Regions from separate parts of the Homo sapiens genome. Here regions 1, 3, 4 and 5 are each linked to region 2. The links are contacts of gene promoters, found by promoter capture Hi-C in blood cells and fetal thymus (Javierre and others, 2016). All regions are on one chromosome and are shown on one strand. Each heading gives the region's core, a stretch centred on a gene start or on the middle of the fragment in contact. The rest is flanking DNA. Distances are from core to core; before and after follow the strand shown.

What was found. The method cuts DNA at HindIII sites, captures the fragments that hold promoters and counts their contacts. A CHiCAGO score of 5 or more calls a contact.
Region 1: a contact is called between the fragment with the promoter of TAF6L here and the fragment with the promoter of MTA2 in region 2, in 4 of 17 cell types (non-activated CD4 T cells, total CD8 T cells, naive B cells and 1 more). The highest score is 5.6, in non-activated CD4 T cells.
Region 3: a contact is called between a fragment that was not itself captured here and the fragment with the promoter of MTA2 in region 2, in 10 of 17 cell types (total B cells, naive B cells, naive CD8 T cells and 7 more). The highest score is 9.7, in total B cells.
Region 4: a contact is called between a fragment that was not itself captured here and the fragment with the promoter of MTA2 in region 2, in 3 of 17 cell types (total CD8 T cells, monocytes and naive B cells). The highest score is 6.5, in total CD8 T cells.
Region 5: a fragment that was not itself captured here is called in contact with the fragment with the promoter of MTA2 in region 2 in 1 of 17 cell types (M2 macrophages); the score reaches 5.2 in M2 macrophages.

The regions. Positions count from the first base shown.
Region 1 is chr11:62,769,369-62,773,920 of GRCh38, reverse strand. TAF6L (TATA-box binding protein associated factor 6 like) reads right to left here and starts at 2,525. Exons shown (of 11, transcript NM_006473.4): 1 at 2,431-2,525. It also overlaps a transcript of TMEM223 not described here. RefSeq lists enhancers at 1,936-2,075, 4,238-4,287 and a silencer at 2,266-2,675. The HindIII fragment of the contact is 6,431 bases long and covers 1-2,874 here.
Region 2 is chr11:62,599,785-62,604,546 of GRCh38, reverse strand. It overlaps MTA2 (metastasis associated 1 family member 2), which reads left to right and starts at 2,682. Exons shown (of 18, transcript NM_004739.4): 1 at 2,682-3,124; 2 at 3,858-3,925; 3 at 4,288-4,381. The coding sequence starts at 3,097. EML3 (EMAP like 3) reads left to right here. Exons shown (of 22, transcript NM_153265.3): 17 at 346-434; 18 at 506-603; 19 at 731-818; 20 at 1,300-1,398; 21 at 1,658-1,788; 22 at 1,869-2,329. The coding sequence ends at 2,072. RefSeq lists enhancers at 969-1,678, 2,187-2,236, 3,617-3,666, 3,101-3,811 and silencers at 2,987-3,036, 3,107-3,206, 3,287-3,366. The HindIII fragment of the contact is 11,513 bases long and covers 1-4,762 here.
Region 3 is chr11:62,808,695-62,813,354 of GRCh38, reverse strand. All of the region lies in intron 10 of STX5 (syntaxin 5), which reads left to right. Among named protein-coding and RNA genes, the nearest start is that of NXF1, 5.6 kb to the right of the region's middle. The HindIII fragment of the contact is 8,125 bases long and covers 1-4,660 here.
Region 4 is chr11:62,833,003-62,837,998 of GRCh38, reverse strand. It overlaps WDR74 (WD repeat domain 74), which reads left to right. Exons shown (of 11, transcript NM_001369450.1): 4 at 1,963-2,038; 5 at 2,158-2,304; 6 at 2,467-2,568; 7 at 3,472-3,572; 8 at 3,668-3,723; 9 at 4,062-4,207; 10 at 4,325-4,381; 11 at 4,868-4,996. STX5-DT (STX5 divergent transcript) reads right to left here. Exons shown (of 2, transcript NR_135084.1): 2 at 3,956-4,436. Among named protein-coding and RNA genes, the nearest start is that of TEX54, 2.7 kb to the right of the region's middle. The HindIII fragment of the contact is 2,307 bases long and covers 2,544-4,850 here.
Region 5 is chr11:62,384,800-62,389,395 of GRCh38, reverse strand. It overlaps ASRGL1 (asparaginase and isoaspartyl peptidase 1), which reads right to left. Exons shown (of 7, transcript NM_001083926.2): 5 at 145-263. Among named protein-coding and RNA genes, the nearest start is that of SCGB1A1, 32 kb to the left of the region's middle. The HindIII fragment of the contact is 6,766 bases long and covers 1-4,596 here.

The DNA.
Region 1 (4,552 bases), core at 1,276-3,775, 170 kb before region 2:
TGCTTCCTCCACTTGGAACTCTCTCCTCCCTGTCCTCCACCCCCAATCCCTTTGTCTAGTGAACTGCTACTCACTCCTTCAGATTTCAGTTCAAATGTCACTTGCTCAGGGATGTCTTCCTAGATCCTCCAATGTCCTTGCATTCTGCCTCCAAACCAGTCGTAAGAATTTGTAGCTGGACCCAGTGGCTCACGCCTCTAATCCCAGCACTTTCGGAGGCCAAGGCGGGCGAATCACCTGAGGTCAGGAGTTCAAGACCAGCCTGACCAACATAGAAAAACCCCCATCTCTACTACAAATACAAAATTAGCCAGGTGTGGTGGCACATGCCTGTAATCCCAGCTACTCGCAAGGCTGAGGCAGGAGAATCGCTTGAACCCGTGAGACAGAGGTTGCAGTGAGTCAAGATCGCACCAGTGCACTCCATTCTGGGTAACAAGGGGAAAACTCCGTCTCAAAAAAAAAAAAAAAATTGTAGGCCGGGCGCAGTGGCTCATCTGTAATCCCAGCACTTTGGGAAGCCAAGGCGGGTGGATCACAAGGTCAGGAGTTCTAGACCAGCCTGGACAATATGGTGAAACCTCGTCTCTACTAAAAATACAAAAATTAGCTAGGCATGGTGGTCCGCGCCTGTAGTCCCAGCTACTCCGGAGGCTGAGGCAGGAGAATTGCTTGAACCCGGGAGGTGGAGGTTGTAGTGAGCCAAGATCGCACCACTGCACTCCAGCCTGGGCGACAGAGCAAGACTCCATCTCAAAAAAAAAAAAATTTGTAATTATAGGCCAGGCATGGTGGCTCACGCCTGTAATCCCAGCACTTTGGGAGGCCGAAGCTGGTGGATCACGAGGTCAGGAGATGAAGACCATCCTGGCTAACACGGTGAAACCCTGTCTCTACTAAAAATACAAAAAATTACCCAGGAGGCTGAGGCAGGAGAATCACTTGAACCCAGGAGGCAGAGGCTGCAGTGAGCCGAGATTGCACCACTGCACTCCAGCCTGGATGACAGAGCTAAACTCAGTCTCAAAAAAAACACAAAACAAAAAACAAAAACAAACAAAAAAAAAAGATCTTCTAAAAGAAAGAAAGAAGAACTATTCTTTTTTTTTTTTTTTGGAGATGATGTCTGATGTCTCACTCTGTCACCCAGGCTGGAGTGCAGTGGCTTGATCTCGGCTCACTAAAACCTCCGCTTCCCGAGTAGCTGGGATTACAGGCCTGTGCCGCCACACCTGGCTAATTTTTGTATTTTTAGTAGGGATGGAGTTTCGCCATGGTAGCCAAGCTGGTCTGGAACTCCTGACCTCAGGTGATCCGCCCACCTCGGCCTCCAAAGTGCTGAAATTACAGGCGTGAGAGCCACCGCACCTGGCCCGACGAGCTTTTTTTTTTTTTTTGGAGACACAGTCTCGCTCTGTCACCCAGGCTGGAGTACAGTGGCGTGATCTCGGCTCACTACAACCTCTGCCTCCCTGGTTCAAGCAATTCTCCTGCCTCAGCCTCCCGAGTAGCTAGGACTACAGGCATACGCCGCCATGCCCAGCTAATTTTTTGTATTTTTAGTAGAGACGAGGTTTCACCGTGTTGCCCAGGCTGGCCTCGAACTCCTGAGCTCAGGCAATCCAGGTGCCTCGGCCTCCCAAAGTGCTAGGATTACAGGCGTGAGCCACCGCGCCCGGCCACGAATAGCACTGTACTATGCCTGAGACACAGCTAAGTGCTTTATATGGATTACTTCACTATATTCTCAATAATAAGATATTATTATGTATTTCGTCTATTTCACAGGCAAGGAAATCAAACCTCAGAGGCTAAATGTTCCATGACTTCTCCAAGATCATGAAGTAAGCACTGAGTAAGTAGGGAGGGGGAGCAAGGACTCAACCCCTTGCTCCTAATCTTTACTCTATACCGCATTCAGGAGCCGCCAGCTGTATGGGGAACAAGGCCTGGATCCCACCCCAAAGACATGGATTGGAGACCCACCCCTTGGTGACCCTAGACCCGCCAATAGATCGTTGTGAAGCTGCAGTTTCCCTATCTGTAAAATGGGAGCATTTAGTCCACCAGCGCGAAAGGCACGGAGGGAGTTTCCCTATTATATGACCGTACACGAAATCTAGACTGTGACCAAAGTCTCCCGCTCCTCAGCCTCCTCTCCTCCGCATCCTCAGCCACTAGTCACGCTGGAGAGGAGGCGTGGGAACTGACCTCCGCGGGCCGGGCCTCGGCAACGCGCATCCTCCCACCCGGCCTAGCCCAGCCCAGATCGGGGAGGGGGTGCGCGGGGGGAGGAGGTCAGGGGTCACTGAACTTGGGTCACGTGGTCAGCCAAGGGGGCGGGCCCTCGCGGTGCGGGCTCCAAGACTGGTGAGTAAGCAGTCGGCGTCGGGAATGGGGAGTCCTTGGACCAGAGCAAGGCCTGCTCACCTGAAGACCCCGGCGTGGCGAAGGCTGCTACCGAGACGACGGCGGCGGGGGCGGTGGCGGCGGCGCCCACTCACGAGCTCACACTCATTCCCTCTCCCGGGGCCCCGGCCCCGCCCTCCCCAATACAGCCAGTCGGCGGGCGCCTTGGAAAGTTTCCGGCCCTCCAGGAGGCTTCCTGGCTCTTGATTGGCCAGTGTGAACAGACTGTAGAGACCGGCGGTCACGTGACGCTGAAGATTCCCGCTTCTTAAAGCAACCTCTCTTGCTACGTTTGCGAGTAGGTGTGTATTGTTTTAACACACGTTTAATAAGCATATTTTATTTTTTTTACCACCACAATAGTAACGAGGAAATAAACAGTCTCAAAGACAGCGTCTTGATTTTCTTTGTCTTGTTTGCTCGCGAGTTTCTGAGCACCCGCATTTTCGCGACTGCAGCAAAGCTTTAGATTTTGGTGTCTGGCTTAGTTTTCCTGCCCGGCCTACCTCCCCAACATCACATGCCACTTCCCCTTCCTGAAGGGATAGATGGGGCTCTCGGTAGGTGTTCTCGGCAGGCAGAAGGGACTTCTGACCCGGCCGAACATCCCGTGCAAGCTCCGGACTCCAGGGTTCTGCTCTTTCTGCACCTACTTCGCATTCTCCCCACGCCTGTGAACCAAATACAAGCCCTGGCCTACCTCGCCTTGCATGACCGTTGGACACGCACACTGACAGCTCTCTTTCTCCAACTCCCACTGCAATAGCAGCTACTTGGGCAGTTCTTAATTGATAAGCAGTGGGCTTAGTGAGTAAAGGATGGTATTTGGAATCAGACCGACCTGGGTTAAAATTCTGACACTGCCTTTGGGCAAATTACCTAATATGGAGTAATAATGCGCACTTCACAGGGTTGTTGTAAATTAATGTCTGTGAGAGTCCCTGGCAGAGTTGGAGGTTAAACTTCTTTCCCGGCCGGGCGCGGTGGCTCACGCCTGTAATCCCAACATTTTGAGAGGCCGAGGCGGGGGATCACCTGGGGTCGGGAGTTCAAGACCAGCCTGATCAACATGGAGAAAAATCCATCTCAACTAAAAATACAAAATTAGCCGGGTGTGTTGGCACATGCCTGTAATCGCAGCTACTCGGGAGGCTGAGGCAGGAGAATTGCTTGAACCCGGGAGGCGGAGGTTGTGGTGAGCCGAGATCGCGCCACTGCACTCCAACCTGGCCAACAAGAGTGAATCTCCGTCTCAAAAAAAAAAGAGAGAAACTTTCTTTCCCTCACATGTCACAAGGCATACAGTGAATTCCTTTAAGTTCACCCAAGATGGGGTAGTTTGCACTGAGTGAACTGTGGGAACATTCTGCAAGGGAGCATGAATGTACACATTTTTTCTCTTTCCCCCTCTCAGGGTTAGATGCTGCTGCCGCTGGAAAAGAAAATCCCCTGGGACCCGAGCTGGCAAAGCCAGATGGATGCGACTGTGGTTGCCATGGCAACCCCACCTAAGGAGAATGTGACCCTGCTGAGTCTCTTCCACTCATATTCAGAACCATATTAGAAGTGGTTTCAAGTGTCTGCCCACCTGTGCGTTAAGGGAAAGAGAGAGGGCGCTCTCCTCTAAGGTCTGACTGAGCCTGAAGTCAGCTTAGCCAGACCTGGGCAGCTGGCTGACCTCCTTGCTTAGGTTTACTGTTCTGGACAGCCATCAGCAACCTTGGAGACACTAGAAGATGGGAGGGAGACCGGGACTGCCCGGGACCTATTAGATGTAGTGAACCTGTATCCAACCTGTCTGGAGCTCATTTGCTCCCAATCTGAGTGGAGGCAGGAACCAGGGAAGGCAGTAGTGAGACCTCCATGGCCACAGATGGGAGAAAGGTGGCTCGCTCCACACACCCAATGCCTGGCAAGAACTATGATGGCTTTGGTGTCAGACTTTTTTTCTTTTTTCCTTTTTTTGAGACGGAGTAACACCCTGTTGCCCAGGCTGGAGTGCAGTGGCGCAATCTTGGCTCACTACAACCTCCACCTCCCAGGTTCAAATGATTCTCCTGCCTCAACCTCCCAAGTAGCTGGGATTACAGGCACTTGCCACTACCACCAGCTAATTTTTGTGTTTTTAGTAGAGACAGGGTTT
Region 2 (4,762 bases), core at 1,433-3,932:
AATTAGACGGGCATGGTGGTACGCACCTGTAATTCTAGCTACTCAGGAGGCTGAGGCATGAGAATCACTTGAACCCAGGAGGTGGAGGTTGCGTTGAGATCTTGCCACTGCACTCCAGCCTGGGTGACAGAGTGAGACTCTGTCTCAAAACAACAACAACAACAACAACAAACTAAAAAAGAAGAATGCAGTTGTGACCTGTCTTCTACATCAGAGCCTTTCTGTGTGTGTCTCTGAGCTTCTCTTATTTGCCATCCCCAAGCCTACCCAGGGTGGCCTCCCTGGGGGTCTCCTTACATCCTGCCTTTTCGTCTTCCTATCTGCCTCCACTTCCCTCCCTTCCAGGTGGTTGGTTTTGGACACAGAGACCAGAGAGATCGTGTCTGATGTCATTGATGGCAATGAGCAGCTCTCAGTGGTCCGGTACAGCCCAGGTGGGAGCCACCCCAACCCTGGACTCACATGCGTCCCTGGCCCTTCCCTCTCTGAGTGACTGTATTTGCAGATGGGTTGTACCTGGCCATTGGTTCCCATGACAACGTGATCTACATCTATAGTGTTTCCAGTGATGGTGCCAAATCCAGCCGCTTTGGCCGCTGTATGGTGAGGAAGTTGGGGTGTGTGGTGGGGCATGATAACAGCTGCGAAACTCAGGGGTCTGATGCATCAAGGGGGCTCTGGGGATGGGAAATGGATGGGATACTTTAAAACTCTTGACCTTTGCTCCCAGGGTCACTCCAGCTTCATCACTCATCTTGACTGGTCCAAGGATGGGAATTTCATCATGTCCAATTCTGGGGACTATGAGATTCTTTACTGTGAGTGGCAGTGGAGCAGGACATGGGGAGAGGGTAATTGGAGTGGGTTTTGTGTAGGGGGGGCTGTTAGAGGTGTTGTTAGATAAGGAAGTGGAGATGGGGTTAAAGTGGAGTTGGAATTATATGTAGGAGAAATTTCGTGATTTGGAAACAACTAGTTTCACACCATGTCTTGTTGACTTGAGGGAGTTCAAAAATGCGCTAAGAAAAGATTGTTTGGGAAAAGTTTCTCAGGGCAAGTGTGGAGCACTTGACTTATCTAGGGAGGAGGAACTCGTGGAAGCTGTTAGAACTTCAGCCAGAGCTCAGGACAGGACGCACACAGGGTGGGTTTCACAGGGGGAGGAGGTGATGCTACTACGGTGACCAGATCACATGCCATCGCCGGGTTTCATGCCAGTCTTTCCAGTCTGGCTTTCCCTGGCATCTTCCCTACTGAGGGCAGGGTGAGAGCTGAGCTGGGCGGGCTCCCTCTCCCCAGGGGACGTGGCTGGAGGCTGCAAGCAGCTGAAGAATCGCTATGAGAGCCGAGACCGGGAATGGGCTACCTACACCTGTGTGCTGGGCTTTCACGTCTACGGTGAGCAGGGGCGTGGAAACCTGCTGGAAGGGTGGGGGACAAGGTGGAGCCCAGTTTGGGCTTGGAACGCTGGGCGTGTGTCGTTGGGTGAGAGTCCAGAAACCTGAAGATCCAGCCCAGGAGGCCCCTCGGGACCGGGAAGGCTTGCCTGGAACGCGGCAGTGGGTGGCCGCGGCTGCCGGAGCGCCTGAAATGGTGTAGCTCTGGGCCGTGGGTGGCGGTGGGTAGGAGGTCGGGCTGAGGCCGGCCGCTGTGCTAGGCGTCTGGCCGGACGGCTCCGATGGGACCGACATCAACTCCCTGTGCCGCTCCCACAACGAGCGCGTGGTGGCGGTGGCCGACGACTTCTGCAAAGTGCATCTCTTCCAGTACCCGTGCGCTCGTGCCAAGGTGAGGCCGCGGGGATCGCCGGGGTGGGACCGGTGGGCCCGAGGGCTCAGCCGCCACCGCAACTCTTCCCTCCGGCCCAGGCGCCGAGCCGCATGTACGGGGGCCACGGCAGCCACGTGACCAGCGTCCGATTCACGCACGACGACTCGCACCTCGTCTCGCTGGGCGGCAAGGACGCCAGCATCTTCCAGTGGCGAGTGCTGGGCGCTGGGGGCGCGGGGCCGGCGCCCGCCACGCCCTCTCGAACCCCCTCCCTGTCCCCCGCCTCCTCCCTCGACGTTTGATCGCTGCCTGGCGGGACCGACTGGCCCGGCGGCGTGGCCCCGCCCCGCCCTGCCCTTCCCTGGCCCAATCCCCCACGACTAGGGGCCGACTCTTTCCTGGACTGACTTCGAGACATTCCCGATCGCGCATTTTCCTGGAGGGCGCGAACGGCGCCCCTGCACACACTGTTTAGACCCGCTGGCTGAGCCGGGCAGCCCCAGCCTAGGCCTTGACTCCCGCTGCCTGCTGAGGGGCAATAAACCAGAACCAAAGTCGCCTCCCGGTGCTTTTGTGGGGCGCTGCCGGGCGCCTCCGGGGCTCTGTGGGGTGGGGACGAAGGAAAAGAGGCGTGCGGAAAGGGTAAGGGAGCGTAGACCATTTATGCAAATGACAGGCAAAGCCGCTTGCAAATAACCTGGCGAAGCGCTAAGGCGCGCGAGTCTTTGGGGCGCGAGGAGGAGCTGCAGGGCTCCAGCGAGGACAGAGTTAAGCCCGACTCCTCTCCCGCCCTCGGAAAAGGGGGTGGGGCCGAGCTGCGACGGAAATAGCCGAGCGGTTGCCCGACAGGAGCCGAACTTCTTCCGGAAGTAGCCGATCTGCGGGGTCTCGCTCTCCGACCTGAGCCGAGCAGTGGGCCTTGTTCTCCGGATCGGCCGAAGGTGTTCCGGAAGGAGGCGAACCCTGAGGCGGGCCCGGCAAGCCTTCCCTGCGGCCGGCAGAGCCCAACGACTAGTGGGACTCCGCGGGGGCGGGGGTAGCTGGAGCCTGGCTCTGGCCTGGCAGGAGCCGAGCTCGTTCCGGAAGAAGCCGAGCGGACGGGGGCCAGCCTCAGCGTCCCGGGAGTGAGGCGATAGCTGCGGCGGCGACAGCGCGGGCCGGGATGAACCGCGACGGCTGAGGCAGCGGAGGTGCCGGCTGCGCGGGCCCCAGTGAGACTCCCTCGAAGCGGCAGCCCACCGTTCGGGGCTTTGCCTCGAGCCGAGCCCTGCCCCCGCGAGCCTCCCGGACCCCTTTGTGCGGCCGGAGGCGGCGGCGGGAACGGCCATGGCGGCCAACATGTACCGGGTGGGAGGTGAGTACCGGGCGCAGGGATACGGGGCCCGGGGCGGGAGAGGTTGGGGTAGGGACCTGAGGGGCTCGGCACCGGGTGGCGCGAGGCGCAGCGTATGGGGCAGCGTGGACCGGAGCGCGGACCGGAACCGGAACCGGGAGACGAGGAGAGAGGGTGCGGGGAACCGCGACGCGGCAGGGCTCCGAGACTCCCAGAGAGAAGCTGCGGGCAGCCCCGACGGCACTTTCGGGGCTGCGTCAGGGGCTCCCCGGGGCACGGAGTGGCCTTCGGAACCGGTTCCGAAGGAGCTGACAGGGTAGGGAGGGAACGCGAGGGGCTGGGGCGACGGCTTTGCCACCGCGGGGGAGCCGCCCGGAGGTTTCCTCTTCCCAGGCGTTATTGTGCGCCTCGATTCGAAAAGGTAGGGGCCCTGCGCTAGAGCGGACAATTACTTCGCCGCGACTGGGGTGCAACTCATCGCTGAGTTGTGGGGACTGCAGGGGAACCCCTGCTTCTTGCCTGTTCCTTAAGGCTCTCTTTTGAGTAAAGGATCTAATTTTAGAACTAGGTGCGGTGGGGATGGGGGACATCCTTATTTTCTCTTAGTCTGTCCACTTTCACATCTCAGCGCCCTTTCTACCTGAATCCTTATCTCCTTTTGATCCACTCAGGCCAACTTTCTCTCCTACCCTGGTGCTCTGCGTCTCCCATCTCCTCTGATCTTCGTGGTTCTCCCCCCTCCCTTCCCTTACAGATTACGTCTATTTTGAGAACTCTTCCAGCAATCCTTACCTGGTTAGACGGATTGAGGAGCTCAACAAGGTGAGTGGAGCAGAATCCCTCTCCCTCCCTCCCGCAGTGGTCTCTTCTGAGGTTTCTAACTTCTGGTGGAAGAGAGGATCCTATACTAAGTACCCATTCATATTCGTTCATTCATTCATTGGATGTATTCAGGAAAGGCTATTGAGAGGTTAGCAGGAACTTTACTATTCTGTCTCTTGGGGGCAAAGGAAAGGGATTTGGAAGTCTATCCTTGAATGTAAGTCTTTACTCATATTTTCTTGGGCTTTTTAATTTAGGTCCCTCTGAAACTTACTGTTATTTGTCTCTTTGTGCATTTCTGTTCCCAGATGATCAATTTCCACTGCTACGTTGTTTTGTTTTTGTTTTTTTCCTCCCCTTAGACTGCAAATGGAAATGTGGAGGCAAAGGTTGTCTGTCTTTTCCGGCGCAGGGACATTTCTAGTAGCCTCAACAGCCTGGCTGATAGTAATGCCAGTGAGTATCTTCCTCCCTTTCTTTTTCTCCTACCCATGATCTGAGGCCTGGGCATGTCCCTGCAGGTATTTCCCCTGGTAGCATGCCCAAGGCAGAGGTGTGAGTTTGGGGGTGGGAAATGCCTGGCCTGAGGAGGGAGGCCTGTTTTTACATGTTGGGGTTGGAAGCAGGGTGGAGAGATTGTGATAAGGAAAGCGATAATATGGTTTGTATATGAGAGTAAGAGAGAGATGATAACATTTAGAGTATGAGGACGAGCTTTAGAGAAACAATGGTTTTCTAAAGGGGGGCAGTTTGGGGTACATTGAGACAGTAGGTGATGACTGAAGGTCAACGTGAAGAGGAAGACATTGTACTGAGAAGCCTGCGTAACAGAGAAGC
Region 3 (4,660 bases), core at 191-2,690, 210 kb before region 2:
GCCATTTATAAGGTACCGTGAGTACAGCTGTCTTGATCCTAGAGTCAGGAGAATTGACTGATTTTTTTTGTTGTTGTTTGTTTGAGACAGTCTCACTCTGTCACCCAGGCTGCAGTGCAGTGGCATTATCTTGGCTCACTGCAACCCCTTCCTCCCAGGTTCAAGTGATTCTCCTGCCTCAGCCTCCCGAGTAGCTGGGATTACAGGCATGCACCACCATGCCTGGCTAATAATTGACTGATTTTTTTTTTTTTTTTTTTTGAGACGGAGTCTCACTCTGCCACCCAGGCTGGAGTGCAGTGGCAACCTCCGCCTCCTGGGTTCAAATGATTCTTCTGCCTCAGCCTCCCAAGTAGCTGGGACTACAGGCACGAGCCACCATGTCCGGATAATTTTTGTATTTTTAGTAGAGATGGGGTGTCACCATATTGGCCAGGCTGGTCTTGAACTCCTAGACCTCGTGATCCGCCCACCTCGGCCTCCCAAAGTGCTGGGATTACAGGCGTGAGCCACCGCACCCGGCCTAATTGATTTTTATCTATTTCAGCTGAGACCTAGGGAACCCCTTGCAGAATTATGCCATAAACACCATAGCTCCCTGAGCTATGTTGTATTTTGAATATTAGAATATTAAGTCTGGGCGTGGTGGCTCACGCCTGTAATCTCAGCTCTTTGGGAGGCGAGACAGGCGAATCACGAGGTCAGGAGATCGAGACCATCCTGGCTAACACGGTGAAACCCCATCTCTACTAAAAAAAATACAAAAAAATTAGCCGGGTGTGGTGACCGGCGCCTGTAGTCCCAGCTACTAGGGAGGCTGAGGCAGGAGAATGGCGTGAACCCAGGAGGCGGAGCTTGCAGTGAGCCCAGATCACGCCACACGCCACTGCACTCCAACCTGGGCAACAGAGTGAGACACCGTTTCCAAAAAAAAGAATATTATAGAGTCAGTGAAACAGAATTATAAAAGATATGGAGGGCCAGGCGCAGTGGCTCATGCCTGTAATCCCAGCACTTTGGGAGGCCGAGGCGGGCGGACCACCTGAGGTCCAGAGTTTGAAACCAGCCTGACCAACATGGAGAAACCCTGTCTCTACTAAAAATACAAAATTAGCCAGGCATGGTGGCGCATGCCTGTAATCCCAGCTACTCTGGAGGCTGAGGCAGGAGAATGGTTTGAACCCGGGAGGCGGAGGTTGCTGTGAGCTGAGATCGCACCATTGCACTCCAGCCTGGGCAACAAGAGCAAAACTCCATCTCAAAAAAAAAAAAAAAAAAAAAGGTATTTGAGTTCTTTCCTCAATCCATATACATCTAAAATAAAGTTATAGCATATAGGCAACTTTACATTCTAGTCTTCCTTGAAACAGTGTCATAAGTATTTTTCACTGTTAGCATGTGTTTGCTCATTGGTTTAGCAAACATTTGTTGCTGCTGTGAGCTAATCCTGCTGGGTCTGAGGATAAAAGGGTGAAAGACCATTCTGGTCCTCCTGGAGCTCACTAGTAGGAGAGACATAAGTTGACAGTGACAGCTCAGTATGATAGGGCAAGAAGAGAAGGGGATGAGGCTGGGTGTGGTGGCTCATCCCTGTAATCCTAGCACTTTGGGAGGCCGAGGCAGATTACTTGAGGCCAGCAGTTCAAGAAAGCCTGTGCAACACAGAGACCCCGTGTCTATTAAAAAAAAAAAAAAAGGGATGAGAGAACTCAGAGTAGGTACTGCTCCTAGATGGGGCCAAGGGGCCTTCCCAGAAGTGATACCAAGCTAAGACTTGGAGGGAATGCCAGCCCAAAAAGGGGAAAGGAGAAGCTGTTCCATGTGAGGAAAAAACAGCACAGAAATGAGAAAGAACTTGGTAGATACAGGAGTGCAGAATTATTCAGCATGGCTGGGGGAGTGGTGAGAGGCAAGGCCAGGTCACAGATAACCTGTGTGTCACAGCAAGAAATTTGGTGTCAGGGAGAGAACATAAGAAGAAGCAAGCGGATTGATGCTGGGTGAGAATTAGGTTTGTTCTGGGTGTGCTGAGTGCCTCAGACTTCATGGGACAGCTAAATGACAGAGTTTAGTAGGCATTTCATGTTCTGATGTTTGGAAGAGAAGGCAGTGCTAGAGGTAAGGACTTAGGACAGTGGCCTCTTGGTGAAACCCTGGGCATAGACCACCCAGAGACTGGGTAAAGTGAAAAAAAGGTCAGGACAGATCCCCCATGGAGTCAGGGGGTATGTAGAGAAGGGAAGAATCTGGCCAGACTGAGGAGGAAGGTTGAGGAAGATGAGAGAAGAAAGCAGAGAGAGAAATGTGTCCTTAGAACTTGGGATAGAAGAATTTTAAGGAGTGGTTATTTCTCCTTGCTCCTGAGAAAGAAAGTTCGAGGTAAGGATGTGTTTGAGTCAGGAGGGGCTTGAATTAATTGGATCAGTGCCAGTATTTTCAGTGGAATGGCTCAGTAGCAATTTTACAGTATGTTGGAGCATAAAAGAAATAAGGAAGTAGAATTTATGGGCAACCATATACAAAATAAATTTATGAAAGGATGCCATCTTTAAAATAGGTGTAGACATTCATATGCTTCCTCCCTGCATGCCAGTGGATCTGGGTTTCAGCACTTGCTCTAGAAACCACTGATTAAGTCTGAAGTTTTTTGGGATGCAGATTCTTGGGCCCCAACCTAGAATTTCTGGTTGTGACACTTGAGAATTTTTATATTTGAGAATTCAACAGGTGATTCTTATTTTTCCTAAGGTGTGAAAACCACTGATCTAATGTTGCTCAGTCATTTTCCTTTTCACCTCATAAAATATTCAAACTACAGAAAAGTTGGGAGGATAGCACAATAAACACTCATATTCCCTTCACCTGTAGTCACTAACTTTTTTTGTTTTCATATTTGTTTTTTTCTTTTCTTTTGAGACAAGGTGACACTCTGTCACTCAGGCTATAGTGCAGTAGCGCAATAATGGCTCACTGCAGCCTCAAACTCCTGGGCACAAGTGATCCCCCCACCTCAGCCTCCCCAGTAGCTGGGATAACAGGTACATGCCACCATGTCCAGCTAATTTTTAAATTTTTTTGTAGAGACAGAGTCTCCTATATTCCCCAGGCTGTTCTTGAACTCCTGAACTCAAGCAATCCAGCCACCTTGGCTTCCCAAAGTGCTGGGATTACAGGCGTTGGCCAGATCTGGCCACCAATTGTTAACATTTTGTCACTTTTTTTCTTTTTCTTTCTTTTTTTTTTTTTTTTTTGAGATGGAGTCTTGCTCTGTCACCCAGGTTGGAGTGCAGTGGTGCGAGATCTCAGCTCACTGCAATCTCCGCCTCCCGGGTTCAAGTGGTTCTCCTGCCTCAGCCTCCTGAGTAGCTGGGGTTACAGGTGCACGTCACCACATCCAGCTAATTTTTGTATTTTTAGTAGAGACAGGTTTTCACTATGTTGGTCAGGCGGGTCTCAAACCCCTGAACTTGTGATCCGCCCACCTCAGCCTCCCAGAGTGCTGGGATTATCGGCGTGAGCCACCACATTCAGCCTTTCCCCTCTTTCTTTTGCCGAATTATTTGAAAGTAGGTGCAAATTTCATGCTGTTTTATTCCTAGATACTACAGCATGCTAATAATAAGGCATTCTCCTGAACAGCCATAATGTCTTTTTTTTTTTTTTTTTTTTTTTTTTTTTTTTGAGACAGAGTCTTGCTCTGTTTCCCAGGCTGGAGTGCAATGGTGCGATCTCCACTCACTGCAAGCTCTGCCTCCCAGGTTCACACCATTCTCCTGCCTCAGCCTCCTGAGTAGCTGGGACTACAGGCGCCCGCCACCACGCCTGGCTAATTTTTTGTATTTTTAGTAGAGACGGGGTTTCACCGTGTTAGCCAGGATGGTCTCCATCTCCTGACCTCGTGATGCACCCACCTCGGCCTCCCAAAGTGCTGGGATTACAGGTGTGAGCCACCACGCCCTGCCCATAATGTCATTTTCAAACTAAGAAAATTAACAGTTCTCCAACATGATCCAGTAATCAGCCCATGTTCAAGTTTCCCCATCTGATTTTTTTTTTTTTTTTTTTTTGAGACGGAGTCTCGCTCTGTCACCCAGGCTGGAGTGCAGTGGCACGATCTCGGCTCACTGCAAGCTCCACCTCCTGGGTTCAAGCCATTCTCCTGCCTCAGCCTCCCGAATAGCCGGGACTACAGGTGCCCGCCACCATGCCCGGCTAATTTTTTGTATTTTTAGTAGAGACAGTGTTTCACCATGTTAGCCTGAATGGTCTCAATCTCCTGACTTCGTGATCGGCCTGCCTCGGCCTCCCAAAGTGCTGGGATTACAGGTGTGAGCCACCATGTCCGGCCCCCATTTGATATTTAAAACAAAAGTTTTTATCTTTTTTCTTTCAATTTAAGACCCAGGAAGATTCACATTTTGTATTTGATGTGTGTCTTCAGTGGGCCTTTTGTTTTATTTTTCATGACATCAACTTGTTTTGTTCAATGTTAAATTAAATCTAACACTGATTAAATTAGTGCTGCGATGATTACATTAGTAGGCACTTGATGAGGTTATCCCTTTTATTGCTGATGTCAATTTAATCACTTGTTCAAGGTGCTAACTATCAGATTAAGCACACTCATCCCTTGGTATTGTGGGGCATTGGCTCCAAGAGC
Region 4 (4,996 bases), core at 2,448-4,947, 230 kb before region 2:
CCTGAGTACCTGGGACCACAGGCAGGTGTCACCCTGCCCAGCTAAATTTTTAAGTTTTTTATAGAGATGGGGTCTCACTGTGTGCCCAGGCCAGTCTCAAACTCCTGGGCTCAACTTGAGCTCAACCACCAACAAGGTGATGTAGCTCTGAAAGCAAAGATTAGGAAGGTGCTAAGTGGTTGGATGACTGGCCTTGCTTTCTTCCAAAGATGATGAAAGAGGGCTGTGAAGCAGGCTGCATAGGTTTGGTGGTGGTAATTCTGACAGGTGAGGTCTGGAAAGCCTGTGGGGGGGACTGGATGTCTGAACTGGTTCTTGAGGGATGGGTAGAATTTTGACTGGTGGAGAAGGGGATAAGGGTATTCTAGAAAGAGGGTACTGCCTGGGAGAGGCCAAGGACTGGAGGCATGCTACAGGGTACATAAATAGGATAAATAGCATTTGATTTGGAAGTTGATAACAAGGAAGCGTTTTTTTTTTTTTGTTTTTTGTTTTTTTTTTATATACGGAGTCTCACTCTGTTGCCCAGGCTGGAGTGCAGTGGCACAGTCTCGGCTCACTGCAACTTCTGCCTCCCAGGCTCAAGCGATTCTCTTGCCTCAGCCTCCTGAGTAGCTGGGATTACAGGCATCCGCCACCACGCCCAGCTAAGTTTTTTTTGTATTTTTATTAGAGACAGGGTTTCACTATGTTGGCCAGGCTAGTCTGGAACTCCTGACCTCAGGCAATCCGCCCACCTCAGCCTCCCAAAATGCTGGGATTACAGGCGTGAACCACTGCACCCGGCCAAGGAAGCATTTTAATACAAGATGAACACTATATTAGGTTGGGATTAAATGTAAAGGGCTTTAAGTGCTAGGTTGAGAGATGTGCACTTTTATTGGTGTTGGTGAGTTATTCATTTATTGTTTTTGTTTTTCTGAGAGACGGAGTCTTGCTCTGTCACTGAGGCTGAAGTGCAGTGGCATGATCTCGGCTCACTGCAACCTCCACCTCCCTGGTTCAGGCGATTCTCCTGCCTCAACTTCCCAAGTAGCTAGGACTACAGGCATGTACCACCACACCCAGCTAATTTTTGTATTTTTTAGTAGAGACAAGATTTCACTATATGTTGGCCAGGCTGGTCTGGAACTCCTGACCTCAGGTGATCTGCCTGCCTTGGCCTCCCAAAGTGCTGGGATTATAGGCGTGAGCCACTGTGCCTGGCCAAGTTATCAGTTTTTGAATAGGAAGTACCATAGTCAGCACTGGGAGCCTGTAGGAGTATGGAGGATGGATTGGAGACAGCAACTGGGAGACTTTTGCCACAGGTCAGGCAAGTCGATACAGAGCCCGAACCCAGCTAGGGAGGGTTGGCAGGTGTGAGAAAGAACATAGGCGCAGGCTGTGCAGATCCTGGGGAGAGACTTGCTTGGACTTCTCGGGAGGGATATTTTAAGCAAGAGACTGACATTTAGTGCCTGAAACTCAGAGCAAGGAACCCAAGAAGTTGGTGTTTGACTTTGACCAAGCCCTAAATTCAGACCAGCCCTAGTAAGCAACTCAAGATTCAGACAGACCAGTACAGCCAGATGCTAGACATAGCTGTGAACAGCAAAAGCACTCTGGAATATCACAGAGTTGATTTCTAGCTGTGGTTGTAACATAGCTGAGTGGCAAATTAGTTTCTCAGCGCTTCTATTTCCTCACTTGGTAAACCCTCACCCTGTTGAGAAAGTTGAATTAACAGATTAGGAAGCTGGAAGCTGTCAAGCCCTGCCTAGAGCCCAGTGACCTAGAGGCTTCCTTCTAAACTGGACTGTTAGTAGGGAATCTGGTTGATATGAGTTTGGGGCCTAGAGAATACTTTTATACTTTTTTTTTTCTTTAAACATTAGTCAACTGTAGTAGTAAGGAGGAGAGAAAGATTAGAACAAGGAGTTTAAGCACTTAAAAAATCCCAACTCTATCCTTTCTCTGCAGCACCCTCATCACATGTGTGGATTCTGGGATTCTCAGAGTCTGGCATGACAAGGACAAGGACACATCCTCTGACCCAGTGAGGCTCCCCTGCCCTGATGGTTGGGGGAGGTGGGCTGGGGTAGGTGCCTAATGATCACGCTGGGGAAGGGAGGATTAAGGACTCTGGAACGGACTCTTATCTCCTATTCTTTACAGCTCCTGGAACTGAGAGTGGGCCCTGGGGTGTGTAGGATGCGCCAAGACCCAGCACACCCCCATGTGGTTGCCACAGGTGGGAAAGAGAATGCTTTGAAGATATGGGACCTGCAGGGCTCTGAGGAACCTGTGTTCAGGGCCAAGAACGTGAGTGACAAGAGTGTGAAGGAGCTGTTCCTGAAGTCGAGGGAGGCTGAGGCCACTGACGATGCATTAGAGACTAGATGGACTTAGGGGGCGAAGGAGGGCTGAAAACAGGGGCACATCGAGCCCCCCATAGCCCTGTCCTCCATCTGCCCACCCCACCAGGTGCGGAATGACTGGCTGGACTTGCGGGTTCCCATCTGGGACCAGGACATACAGTTTCTCCCAGGATCACAGAAGCTTGTCACCTGCACAGGGTACCACCAGGTAAGGTGTCACCTCACACCTGCCTTCTCCTGGGATAAAGCAGCCTCCTGGAGAAATGGCCCCCACGGTTTGACACAACTGCTCTTCTCACCATTCTGAGTTCAGAGGAGCAAGCGCTTCCCCGTCTGTTCCAACCCTGTCCCTGAGCCCATGACCTTCCTCTACTGTATTCTAGGGTGGAGTTTCCTGAACTATGCCTGTTTTCCTCCCACCTGGAAGAGAGGAAAGGAGAGTGGATCCCCTTCACTGTGGGAATTATAGGGTGCAGGTGTCAGAGGACATTGGGCTGGGTGTTAAGAGAACTGGGTTCTGGTCCTGATGCAGCCTCTCTGATTTGCTTTGGGACCCAGGCCTGAGCCTCCCATCTCTGGCCTCAGCTCCTCAGCTTTACAGGAAGGGCCCGAATGGGGAATCTTTATGGTTTGTCTCATTTGAGGTCTTGAGACACGGGCGGGGCTGGGTCACTGTATTTGTCCTATTTTCTTTGCTTCTGCACATTGAAGTCTGATCTTGGTCATATGCCTCTGCTCAAAACACATATGAGGGCATCCTCTTTCCTCCTTCATTCAGGCTAACCCCTGCTTGAAATTTAGCACCTACTGACTACTAGACCAACTTGCTTTTCTGTCCCTCCATTTCCCCTAGATGGGAGTATGGGGGGATGGAATGCTCACACACTTCCAACCTAGGGGACCTCTCCCCTCAGCTCTGTCCATTTATGCTGCTAAGCAGCTCTCCTGACACCCTGATGCTCAGAGAAGAGGCATACATCTAAGATGAGAAAGTTTCTGGGAGTGGATCATAAATAAGAAAGCAGTGTGCAGGGAGGGGGTGAGGATGCAGAGACGCCAGAGGGTAGGTGCAGGGTGAGGATACTTTTGTGATGCTTCAGCCTTCCTCTAGGTCCGTGTTTATGATCCAGCATCCCCCCAGCGCCGGCCAGTCCTAGAGACCACCTATGGAGAGTACCCACTAACAGCCATGACCCTCACTCCGGGAGGCAAGTGAGTGTTTAGAGGGGAAGGGGTGGGAGGGTGGGGCTTGAGAAGGGCTCCAGGAGGTTACTGCTGATCCCACTTGCCTCTGGTCTCATCCTCAGCTCAGTGATTGTGGGAAACACTCATGGGCAGCTGGCAGAAATTGACCTTCGGCAAGGTGAGTGGACTAGGGTACATTGGGGGAAAGGAAGGAGCAGGGAGAAGGGTCAGGATTCCCTCTAAGGTGGTGCAGTGGGGCCAGTGAGGCCTCATTCAGGTGCCAGATTGCCTGGGTTTAAATCCTGGTTTCCCTAAAAGCTGTATGACCTTAAACTAATTATTTCAACTCCCTGTGCCTTAGTTTCCTCACCTGCGAAATGGAAATATTAGTAGAAGCTCCAGTCTCAGGGTTTTGTTGCAGATTAAATGTTGAAATGGAAAGTGATTGGAACAGGAAACAATGAATGGTTGGTTATTGGCCAGCCAGTTATCACGGATGCTTCCCCCCTTCTCTAGGGCGTCTACTGGGCTGTCTGAAGGGGCTGGCAGGCAGTGTGCGTGGGTTGCAGTGCCACCCTTCAAAGCCTCTACTAGCCTCCTGTGGCTTGGACAGAGTCTTGAGGATACACAGGATCCAGAATCCACGGGGTCTGGAGCATAAGGTAAGTTGTCTCTCCCACCTCCAACTCATGGTCTTGTGGAGGCCCCGCCTCCTGTGCCCTCCGTTCATGTTTCTGTCTCAGCATGCCTGGCTCCTTAAGGTCCCTCATCTTTTGCAGGTTTATCTCAAGTCTCAATTGAACTGCCTCCTCTTGTCAGGCAGGGACAACTGGGAGGTGAGCAGTTGGGCCCGGGAATGTGGGAGCCAAGGGCATAGATGTGAGGACCTCCCTATGGAGAGGAAAAGGAGGCAGCTGGAATGCAGACTTGGGACTATCTGTTTACCTGCCTGGTCACTTAATTTCTCTGAGAGGCATTAACAGTTAAAATCCTGAGAGGGTTATTGCCAACAGCATGGATGGGGTTGCTTTCTAGGAGCAGGGAATAAAGGTGGTGGTACCCAGAGGGATTCTTTCTCAGCCAGGGTCTCCTTCCCTGTGGGTTTGTCCCTGTGCCCCTGACTACTTTTCTTTTTTTTTTTTTTTTTTTTTTTTTTTAAACTTCTTTTTGTGGAGATGGGGTCTCCTTATGTTGCCCAGTCTGGTCGCTAAGTCCTGGGCTCAAGCAATCCTCCTGCCTTGGTCTCCCAAAGTGCTGAGATTACAGGTGGGAGCCACCGTGCCCGGCCCCCCTGACTCCTAAGCTTTCTTCCCACTCACCAGGATGAGCCCCAAGAGCCTCAAGAACCCAACAAGGTGCCCCTAGAAGACACAGAGACAGATGAACTTTGGGCATCCTTGGAGGCAGCTGCCAAGCGGAAGCTCTCGGGTTTGGAGCAGCCCCAAGGAGCT
Region 5 (4,596 bases), core at 1,501-4,000, 220 kb after region 2:
ATTGTCACTCCCAGACATCCTGGAGCTGCACCAAAAGCAGAAAGGGAACGCAGCAAGAAACGGAGAGGGGCAGGGAATAGAGAGTGAGGAAAGCCTGAGGGCGGGAGAAGAGGGGAAGGGGCAGGAGGCATCCCTTGGTCCTACCTAGACACGGTGAGTCCCCAACGCGGCCGACCATTTTATTAACGATACCGCCTGTGGAGGTTGCGTAGGCTACATTCCCTTTGCAGTCCAAGGCAACAGCACCCACGGTTCCCAAGTTTCTGCCAAAAATAAACAGAAAAAAAGTGACAGGCTGAAAATGAGAATGAACACCATAACCAACAATGTACCTTAAAACCACTTAAAGTTTCATGTTATATGTTGATGGGGCACCCATTTAATTCCAACATTCTAGAAAGAACCTGCTGCTTCTCATTCTACGTGTAAGTTACAGGTGGATTGCTGGACACTCCTCCACACCTCAGCTTTAAGAGTACATCCAATCCCAACACCACCGTTTTCTAGCTGTGATGCTAAGTTTTATTTTGTGTCTCTTTGTCCCCATCATAAAATGGGGATAAAAGTAAGAGTGCTTCTCAAACTTTAGTGTGTATAAGAATTCCTGGGGTGCTTGGGCCCACAGAGACTCTGAAGCTGCCACCAAGAGGAGAAAGGAAAGGAAAAAGTGACTTGGTAGATACAGGCTGGGACCCAAAATCCTGCTTTTTTTTTTTTTTTTTTTTTGAGATGAAGTCTCACTTTGTCGCCCAGGCTGCAGTGCAGTGGCACAATCTTGGCTCACGGCAACCTCTGCCTCCCGGGTTCAAGTGATTCTCCTGCCTCAGCCTCCCAAGTAGCTGGGACTACAGGCATGCACCACCACACCTGGGTAATTTTTATATTTTTAGTAGAGACAGGGTTTCATCATCATCTTGGCCAGGCTGGTCTCAAACCTCTGAGCTCAGGTGATACGCCTGCCTTGGACTCCCAAAGTGCTGGGGTTACAGGCGTGAGCCACTGTGCCTGGCTGATCCTGCGTTTCTGACAACCTCCCGGGTGTCGCTGATGCTGCCTGCCTATGGACCCTGTGCATGGGGTTGTCGTAAAGATCAAATCCGTTAATTTTCCCCTAACATTTTATTATGAATTCTCGAATACAGTCATGTGCCACCTATGATGTTTTGATCAACAGACTGCATATAGGATGGTGGTCCCATGAGATTATAATCCTCTATTTTTACTGTACTTCTATGTTTAGATACACAAGTACTTACCATTGTGTGACAACTGCCTAGAGGATTCAGGACAGTCACATGCTGCACAGGTGTGTAGCGTAGCAGCAACAGGCCGGACCACATAGCCTAGATGTGTATTAGTCTCTCCTATCTGGGTTTGTGTGAGTGCACCCCTATGATGTTTGCATGGCCATGAAATTGCCCAACTATGCATTTCTCAGGATGCATTTCTTGTCCTGTCATGAGACGCGTGACTGTAACACAGTTGAACAAATTGTACACGAACACCCCAGCATACCCACCAGCAAGGTTCTATAATGAATTATATTTGAGGCATTGTTTTAAGTGCTGGGACACAGTGGTAAAGCTAAACAAAGTCCTTTCTCCCATGGAGCCTGCATTTGGGGTAGAGGGTGGTAGTAACAGGGCAATAATATGTCAGGTGACAAAAACAAAACAAAAAAACAAAAAACCCAAACAAAAAAACAAAGAAGCACCAGGGAAGAGTGATGGTGGGGAGGTGCTGTTTTACACAGAGTGTCTCTGCAGGACAGAGGGGCAATCATGCCATCCCAGCTGCTGGGGAGGAGCGTTCCTGATGCACAAACATGCCTGCCATGTGCATGGAATTTGAAGGAGGCCAGTGTGGCTGGAGAGAATAAAATGAGGGAGAGCGTGGTAGGAGAATGATCAGAGGGACAGCCAAGTCCAGATCACGATATCTCTTGACAAGTGGGGTGACCATACACACTAGTTACCCAGGCCAGTTCAAATGTATGCCTGCTGTCATGGCTTAATTATTAATAGTACCACTTTTACTCTCAAAATTAAGTTTCAGTTTAAACACTAAAGAATATAATCATCCTACCTTTAGGCCATTGCAAAGGCTTTTATTCTGAGTTAAATGGGAGGACGCTGGGCAGTTTGAGTTAGGAAGTGACACAACCTGAGTTCAATCTTAAAAATAATCATTCTTGGCCAGGCGCTGTGGCTCACACCTGTAATTCCAGCACTTTGGGAGGCCGAGGCAGGCTGATCACCTGAGGTCAGCAGTTTGAGACTAGCCTGGTCAACATGGTGAAACTCTGTCTCTACTAAAAATACAAAAAAAAAAAAAAATTAGCTAAGTGTGGTGGCGTGTGTCTGTAATCCCAGCTATTTGGGAGGCTGAGGCAGAAGAATCGCTTGAACCCAGGAGGTGGAGGCTGCAGTGAGCTGAGATTGTGCCATTGCACTCCAGCCTGGGTGACAGAGTGAGACTCCATCTCAGAAAAAAAAAAAAAAATCATTCTTTCCACTCCACCTGCCCTCCAGTAGAATGGCTAAAATGAAGAGGCACATCAAACCTGGCAAGGATGTGCAGGAAGTGGAACTCTCATTCAGTACTGCTGTTAGTGTCAATTGTACCAACATCTTTGGAAAAGCATTTCACAGTATCTACTGAAACTGATGATATGCACATTCCATGACTCAGCAATTATACACCTGTGTATCTGTCCATCAGAAATATGGACAGGTGTTTACCATAAGCGCATTCTCAAGTGTTCACAGCAGCAGTAGGTGTAAAACAGTAGTCCCCCCTTATTTGCAGGGGATACGTTCCAAGACCCTCAGTGGATGCCTGAAACCTCAGCTAGCGCTGACCTCTATAAACACTATCTTTCCCCCTATACATATCTATATATGTACATATATATGTACATATCTATGATATGTATGATATGTACATATCTATGATAAAGTTTAATTGATAAATTAGGCACAGTAAGAGATTAACAATAATAAAATAATACAATTATAACAATATACTATAGTAAAAGTTATGTGAATGTGGTCTCTTTCTCAAAACATCAGACCGCAGTTGAGTGTGGGTAACTGAAAGCACAGAAAGTGAAACCGCAGATAAGGGGAGCTACTGTAACCCTAAACTGGTTACAGTCTCAAACTCCTGACCTCAAGTAATCCACCTGCCAGAAAAAATTTAAAATCTTTTTTTATTTTACTTTTATTTATTTTTGAGATGGAGTCTCACTCTGTTGCCCAGGTTGGAGGGCAGTGGCGTGATATTGGCTCACTGCAACCTCTGCCTCATGGGTTCAAGCTATTCTCCTGCCTAAGCCTCCCGAGTACCTGGGACTACAGGCGTGTGTCACCATGCCCAGCTAATTTTTGTATTTTTAGTAGAGATGGGGTTTCACTATGTTGGCCAGGCTGGTCTCGAACTCCTGACCTTGTGATCCACCCACCTCAGCCTCCCAAAGTGCAGGAATTACAGGCGTAAGCCACTGCACCCGGCCTATTTTATTTCATTTTTGAGATGGAGTTTTGCTCTTGTTGCCCATGCTGGAGTGCAATGGCGTGATCTTGGCTCACTGCAATCTCCACCTACTGGGTACAAGTGATTCTCCTGCCTCAGACTCCCAAGTAGCTGGGATTACAGGCATGCACCACCATGCCCGACTAATTTTGTATTTTTAGTAGAGACGGGGTTTCACCATGTTGGTCAGGCTGGTCTCAAACTCCTGGGCTCAAGTGATCCACCCGCCTCAGCCACCCAAGCTGCTGGGATTACAGGCGTGAGGCACCACGCCTGGCCCTAAAATCTTTTATGTGGCAAAAATACCATAGCAAAAGCAAAATAAAAACAGCAGATTTGGGATTTTTTAAAATTTTATTTACAGCAGAACATAACCTTAAGGCTCATAAGAGCCAGGTACAGTGGCTTGTGCCTGTAGTTCCTGCTACTCAAGAGGAAGAGGTAGGAGGATCACTTGAGCCCAGGAGCTCAAGGCCAGCCTGAGCAACATAGAGAAATCCCATCTATCTATAAAGAACGTTAAAAATGTAAAAGAAAAAACAATGAGACTGATAAGAAAGGGAAAAAATAATTCAAAGGAAAAAATGAGTGTAGGACAAAACTAGGCAAATTTGTAAAAAGGAAAAACCCATAAACAAATGTAAAATGCTCAAACTCACTGTCAGGGAAAGGGAAGAGCAAATTAAAGTAACAGTGTTACCCTTTACCTGTTAGATAAGGAAGGAGGGTTCTCCCAGTCCCTGCTGGTGGCAGGCCCACCTCTAACATTTGCAAGGGGCCATGGCAACAATACAAATACAACTGGAGGCCCACATACCATATATTTAATATTGGGAAGTTATAAGTATGTTCTATCCTGTTACTGTGGTAAATGTATCTTGAAAAATCGGTATTTTTCTTGTATATATGTTTCACTGTATATAAGGTGAACTTTTTTTTTTTTTTTGAGACAGTCTTGCTCTGTGGCGCAGGCTGGAGTGCAGTCGTGTGATCTCGGCTCACTGCAACTTCCATCTCCCAGGTTCAAGTGATTCTCCTGCCTCAGCCTCCTGAGTAGCTGGG